Regions from separate parts of the Homo sapiens genome. Here region 1 is linked to region 2. The links are contacts of gene promoters, found by promoter capture Hi-C in blood cells and fetal thymus (Javierre and others, 2016). All regions are on one chromosome and are shown on one strand. The core of a region is centred on a gene start or on the middle of the fragment in contact, and the rest is flanking DNA. Distances in the headings are between cores, read along the strand shown. Region 1 overlaps MCU (mitochondrial calcium uniporter). Region 2 holds the start of MCU (mitochondrial calcium uniporter).

What was found. Contacts are between HindIII fragments. The CHiCAGO score rates a contact against its expected background, and 5 or more counts as called.
Region 1: a fragment that was not itself captured here is called in contact with the fragment with the promoter of MCU in region 2 in 2 of 17 cell types (endothelial precursors and megakaryocytes); the score reaches 5.7 in endothelial precursors.

Annotation. Positions count from the first base shown.
Region 1 is chr10:72,809,097-72,812,114 of GRCh38, forward strand. All of the region lies in intron 1 of MCU (mitochondrial calcium uniporter), which reads left to right. Among named protein-coding and RNA genes, the nearest start is that of OIT3, 83 kb to the right of the region's middle. The HindIII fragment of the contact is 4,167 bases long and covers 1-3,018 here.
Region 2 is chr10:72,690,864-72,693,799 of GRCh38, forward strand. MCU (mitochondrial calcium uniporter) reads left to right here and starts at 1,280. Exons shown (of 8, transcript NM_138357.3): 1 at 1,280-1,438. The coding sequence starts at 1,289. RefSeq lists enhancers at 898-957, 2,628-2,717 and silencers at 1,158-1,617, 1,708-1,757, 1,778-1,867. The HindIII fragment of the contact is 1,146 bases long and covers 935-2,080 here.

The sequences.
Region 1 (3,018 bases), core at 325-2,824, 120 kb after region 2:
GATGGATATATTAGAAGGACAAAAGATTGGAGGCATTGTAGTAGTAGTAACAATAACCATTCTGTTTTGAGTGCCAGGCACGTGCTCACTGTGCTTAATGCTTTATATGCATTAGCCCTTTGTCACCTCACAACATCTGGATTTATCTAAACAGAAACTAAGACTTGAGGCAGTCAGTGGAACTTGCTCCAAACCACAAAGCTAATAAATGGAAGAGCTGGGATTCAAATCCATTTGTGACTTTAGGGCCTCTGCTCTTAACCACTGAATTATATTAATATTCATAGAAAAAAGAAGGAACAAAAAGAAGCAAAAAGGGTGATGGTAGACTTGATGAGACTTGGAATTGGCTGGGAGTACAAAGTGAAGACTCTAAAATGGCTATGGGTCTTAAAGCCTGAGAGACTGACCAAAAAGTTTGACGTACAATTAATTGAAATCGGAAACATTGGAGTGGAGCAGGTTTGGGAACATATTTTACTTCAGGGACTTAGAGGTATATTTGATAGAGCTATTCTAATAAGCAGCTAGAAATTTGAATCTGAAAATCAGTACAGAAAGGACTCAAGACATTATTTTCATTGAGATAATAACTTGAAGTTCTAAGAAAGGTTGAGCTCTCCAAACAGAATAAGTATGAAAAAACAAGGGCAAAGAATAAGCCTTGATGAGTATTTTGGGGATAGCTGGAAGAGCAAGAAGGCAATAAAGGAGACATAGAAGTGGTCAAAGACAGTAGAGTAAGAAGTAAATTCAGGAACTCCTAGAGTGTCATAGAATTCAAAGAAAAGAATTTCAGGAGGGAGGAGGTAGTCAGCAGTATCAAATGTTTCCAAGAAGGCATAATAGTATGAGAAATGAGAAAATATCAGTGGGAAGTAGGATTAGTGAAGGCAGGCTTCTGTGTGTGCATGTGTGTGTGTGTTTGTATGTGTGTGCGCGTGAACATATGTGTATGGGGGTGGACATAGTGTAGAACTAGACATGTCTAAGGTTGGAGAAAGGAGCTATTGAAGTTGGAGACATTAAAGATGCAAGAGAGAAGAACTAACTGAAGAAGTAAAGGTATTCACCTTGCAAAGGAGTGGGGAGACTTCTTTCCCTGTGTTAGAGTGAAAGAAGAGAAAAAAAGAAAATTGAGAGAAACTTGGTGTTGGAGAAGAGAGGAATTGTGAGGGTGAATTTCAGAAATTTCCTATTTTACTGGTTTCAGTAAAATAAGAGGTGACGTCTTTGACTGAGAGGCAGGAAACAGTTCTGAACAACTTCTGTAGGGAAGAAGTCTGAGAGTCCACTGACATATGTGAAAGCATTTAGTGAGTAACATGATTTTGTAGTGACATCAGTTAAGACAATTATGTTGCCTTTTTTTTTTTTTTTTTTTTTTTTTGACGGAGTTTCGCTCTTGTTGCCCAGGCTGGAGTTCAGTGGTGCAATCTCGGCTCACTGCAACCTCTGCCTCCCGGGTTGAAGTGATTCTCCTGCCTCAGCCTCCCAAGTAGCTGGGATTACAGGCGCCTGCCACCACGCCCAGCTAGGTTGTTGTTGTTGTTGTTGTTGTTGTTGTTTTGTATTTTTAGTAGAGACAGGGTTTCACTATGTTGGCCAGGCTGGTCTTGAACTCCTGACCTCAGGTGATCTACCTGCCTCAGCCTCCCAAAGTGCTGGGATTACAGGTGTGAGCCACTGCGCCTGGTCTGTGTTGCCTTTTTCTCATAGGCCTTGCTTTATCCCACAGCAGGAGTTGATGAAATAAATTTACCAGAAAGTAAGGATTGGCACAGTAGGTCTAGGAGGTCAAGGAAACCAAAATGCCAGAGAACATAGTTAAAATAAGGCTTATACTGAGTATGGAGATAGTAGAGAAAGGACAATAGGCCTGGAGAATATTGAAAAGACTTGGTAACTTCTATTGGTTATATCCAGTAAGAAACCTCCAACCTGCTCAGCACATGCTTTTAGAAATAGCTATTCAGTGTATACTTTATTAGTTTACCAACTGGGGTCACCCTTTGAACCAAAATAAACATGAATCTTTTACTGCCAATTTCTCAAGGCGAAAATGCGTAATTTATAATGTAGGAAAGATAGGCTATAAAATAGTTGATAAGATTTAAGTCTAGATTGCCTTTTCAGTTCGGTTGTGGTGGCTGTTGTTTGAGAAAAAGGTTATTGATGTTAAAGGATAGTTGCATTCTAGACGCAATGAGCCAAAATAGAATTTGTTGCGAACTTGTTAATGTGTTCATGTGTGTTTTTTGTTGAAGTGAGTTGACATTTTTATGACAAACATTTTTTTGTGTCTGTTGTAGTTGTTCAATGAGAAGAGGGCCAATATAACCAATAGACTTGGTCCTCTACTAATCTGAATAATAAGACTTGTTTTGTAAGACCTGTGGGGTCCCTTCAGATTATTCTTACAATTGGATTTTCTTTTCTTAACTAAGCAGCTACTCAATCTCTCTTTGCTTTTCTTTCAATGACATTAGAGTTCCAGAGCAAGAGGAAAGGAATCTTTCACTCAGTTTAGTTTGATTGAAAAGGCCCACTTAATTAAAATGTGTAAGTTGTCTTTGAGCTTATCATTTAATGATTTTCTTCTATCTCTGTATTAAGAGACTAAGTAATGATAATGTTTTGAATTTTTGCAAAATAAATTTCATGTTAACTAACTTATCTTTGAAGATAAAAGATAATTTCTCAAGATAACATGTTTTGAAAAGAATTTTACCAAAAGACCATACTGGCTTTTTCAGTATTATTTTCATATACATAGAATTCTGAATGCTGTCTTTTCCTTTATTACAGATATATTCAGAAACATTTCCCTGTATCTTCCTTCTTGTTTAGTTAAAAAATAAATTTTATTCAGCCAACCCTGTGTTCCTTGTCATTTATGTACTAGATACACTTGAAAACAGTTTCCTATATTGAATGTATTTTAGGAAATAATATTATTTACCTATTCATTTTGGATGTTTATAGTGCTTTTTTTTTTTAACATGGAGAGTAAAATGC
Region 2 (2,936 bases), core at 30-2,529:
GAATTTAATCAGCTCATAATAATAAACAGCTAGCAAGGAAATACTCTTCTAAGGAAATTCAGGACCCAAAATCTTTCTTAGGCAGTATTCAAGGAGCCCTCATTGTGAGTTTAAGTGGAAAGAAGTGTTTTTCAAGAGAAAGTGTTTGTTATTCCAAAGCGTATTCTGATAACTATTTCGGCAAAATTATGAAGCATCATTAAAATAGCCTTTTACATGAATTTTTTTTTTTTTTTTTGAGATGGAGTCTTGCTGTGTCGCCCAGGCTGGAGTGCAATGGCCCGATCTCGGTTCACTGCAAGCTCCGTCTCCCGGGTTCACACCATTCTCCTGCCTCAGCCTCCGGAATAGCTGGGACTATAAGCGCCCGCCACCACGCCTGGCTAATTTTTTGTATTTTTAGTACAGATGGGGTTTCACCGTGTTAGCCAGGATGGTCTCGATCTCCTGACCTCGTGATCCGCCCGCCTCTGCCTCCCAAAGTGCTGGGATTACAGGCGTGAGCCACCGCGCCCGGCCTTACATGATTTTTTATTACGTTATTAATGTGTTCTGTTTCTGTAAATGCACACAAAGTCAAATATGATAAAATAGTGCTGTTTCTGGAGAGTGTGAGAATATCCGTATAAAGGTGCTGTAAAAATGAATTGGGTATTTGAGATGTATACACGTCAGTTAATTCACTCTGAAGGCATGTACTCATTCTGGGACTTTGATATTGTAATCGTTCTACCTCTCCTATATTATGCTACGCATCACAGTCATTAGATCACTCCGTGATGTAGAGTTAATTTCAGCATATCTAAATATTATCAGTTATGAATGATAATTCTAGGCGTGTAGTTGAGAGTTACAGCATACACCGTTAATGGTTATTAATTTGGTGCCTATTTTGCCAACTTAGAACACTCACTTAGAACTCAACTTCGAACAAAGCTTTTCACAAATATCTATATCCCCCGTTACTCTTATCATAGCTCTATTGTTGGTGAAGATTAGCCGAACTGAACATGCCATCTCTATTGCTGTTATTTTCACGGGTTTGGGTGTCAATTATGGGTTCCCTAGAATTTGCCCGTAATTGACTATGTCCCACTATAGGTAACTCTGGAAGGGACTGGCAGCTTCCAGTGTGGTTCTCCCGCCTGTCGATTGGACCTTGCAGGAAGCCCCGCCTCATCAACTCAGTCAAGGGCTTTAGTTGGCCCGGCGTCGGTGAGTGGCGGGTCTTAGCTCCGCCCTGGCCGTCCGCTGCGCTGCCTGGGTCGGCGCCGTTTCCAGTTGAGAGATGGCGGCCGCCGCAGGTAGATCGCTCCTGCTGCTCCTCTCCTCTCGGGGCGGCGGCGGCGGGGGCGCCGGCGGCTGCGGGGCGCTGACTGCCGGCTGCTTCCCTGGGCTGGGCGTCAGCCGCCACCGGCAGCAGCAGCACCACCGGACGGTGAGCGAGCGCGCCCGGAGGCTCCGGGGAGGGCGGGGCGGCGCTGGCGTGTGGGAGCCGCCGGCGGGCAGGCCGCCGGGGCAGCAGGCGAGTTACCTCAACTCCCGGCCGCTCCGGAGGTTGCCGGGCACCGAGGAGCCGCCGTGCCCTTCAGGCGCCTGCGGCGGCGACCAGGAAGGGAGGGCGGGCGGGAGGAAGCCGAGAGGAGGAGGAGGGGCGACGGCGGGGATGTTCCCGCAGGACTGGGGACACCAGGGCGGGGAAGGCACGGGACTTGAACCTCTCCCCGACTCGCCCCCAATCGCGTTCCCTCCCTTCTTCGTTCTTAACAGCCCTGCCCCAAGGCTCCCTGAACGGAGCCAGATGGAAGTTGTCCCCTTTCCCTCCTCCTCCGGGCGGGTTGGGGAGTTCTGAGTTGCCGCGGCCGCCTTGTGTGTGCCAGGAGAGTGGCAGTGCCATGCTGCTGGGAGCTGCCCCGGAGAGCAGCCCAGGACCCCGGCGGGGCCGCCCCTCGTCCTCTCTCGTCCCCGAGGGGTCGGGCAGGAAGGAAAATCAAACTTTATTCCCCTCTGTGACTTCCTCTGTGTGTGTGCATGGGGAACCGGCTCCCTCGAGATGGATGCTGCATTGCTTCAGGAGGCAAGCTTCATCCTCTTGGGTCCTTAAAGGTGCTTTTGGGGGTCCTTTCGAGGGCTACTGTATAAGCGTGTTCACGCGTGCCTGAAGCGGGAAGGGTGGTCAGCAGGCACAGGAGAAGCGAATATGGTAAGTTGTTGACAGAGGCAGAGATTTGGTGGTTGTATTAACCAGTTGTTGCTGGGTTTCATTGGCTGGCAGAAAAAGAGGATTTCTGTTTGAACACTCTTGGGTGAGTGTGTGTGTGTGTGTGTGTGTGTGTGAGAGAGAGAGAGACAGAGTGTGAGAGAGATTTCTTTTTTCAATTGCAAGAGATGAATTTGGCATGGAGTTCTTAACCTAACAAGTCAGGAGGTTTCCTTCCCTTGGACTTTCTAGACCTATATGTGTTGGTCTCTGGCCAGCTCTGAGGGAAAGAATGTAGGTTTTATTTGCTGGGGCTGAGTTGTATAGTGTGATTATTGGAGGATCACTGCAAACAGCTTGATAGGAGAAACTACAATAGTACCTTCAACCCTCAATAAACACATCGCCTGCCTTGTTCTGATCATAACTCTTAAGAGGAAACTGAACTGGAGCTCTTCGGAGAGGATACTCCTAAGGCCAATGACAGCATCAAAATCGAGTGCCTGAAAGATCTATGAAAAGACCTAATGCTCTGCAAAAGCAAGGTTGTATTGTTATTATTAGTCATAGGTATGGACCCTATCCTCATTCTTGTGAGAAGATTGTACCTCTTTTTATTTGGCATACTGGCATATTGCTTTGCTGAAGCTTTTGGGTGACAGCCAAGAGCTTTTCCACAGTTCAATTTAATTTGCATGTTTCATAGCCTCTAGTTATGTGTTTTGTTCTCTTAAAA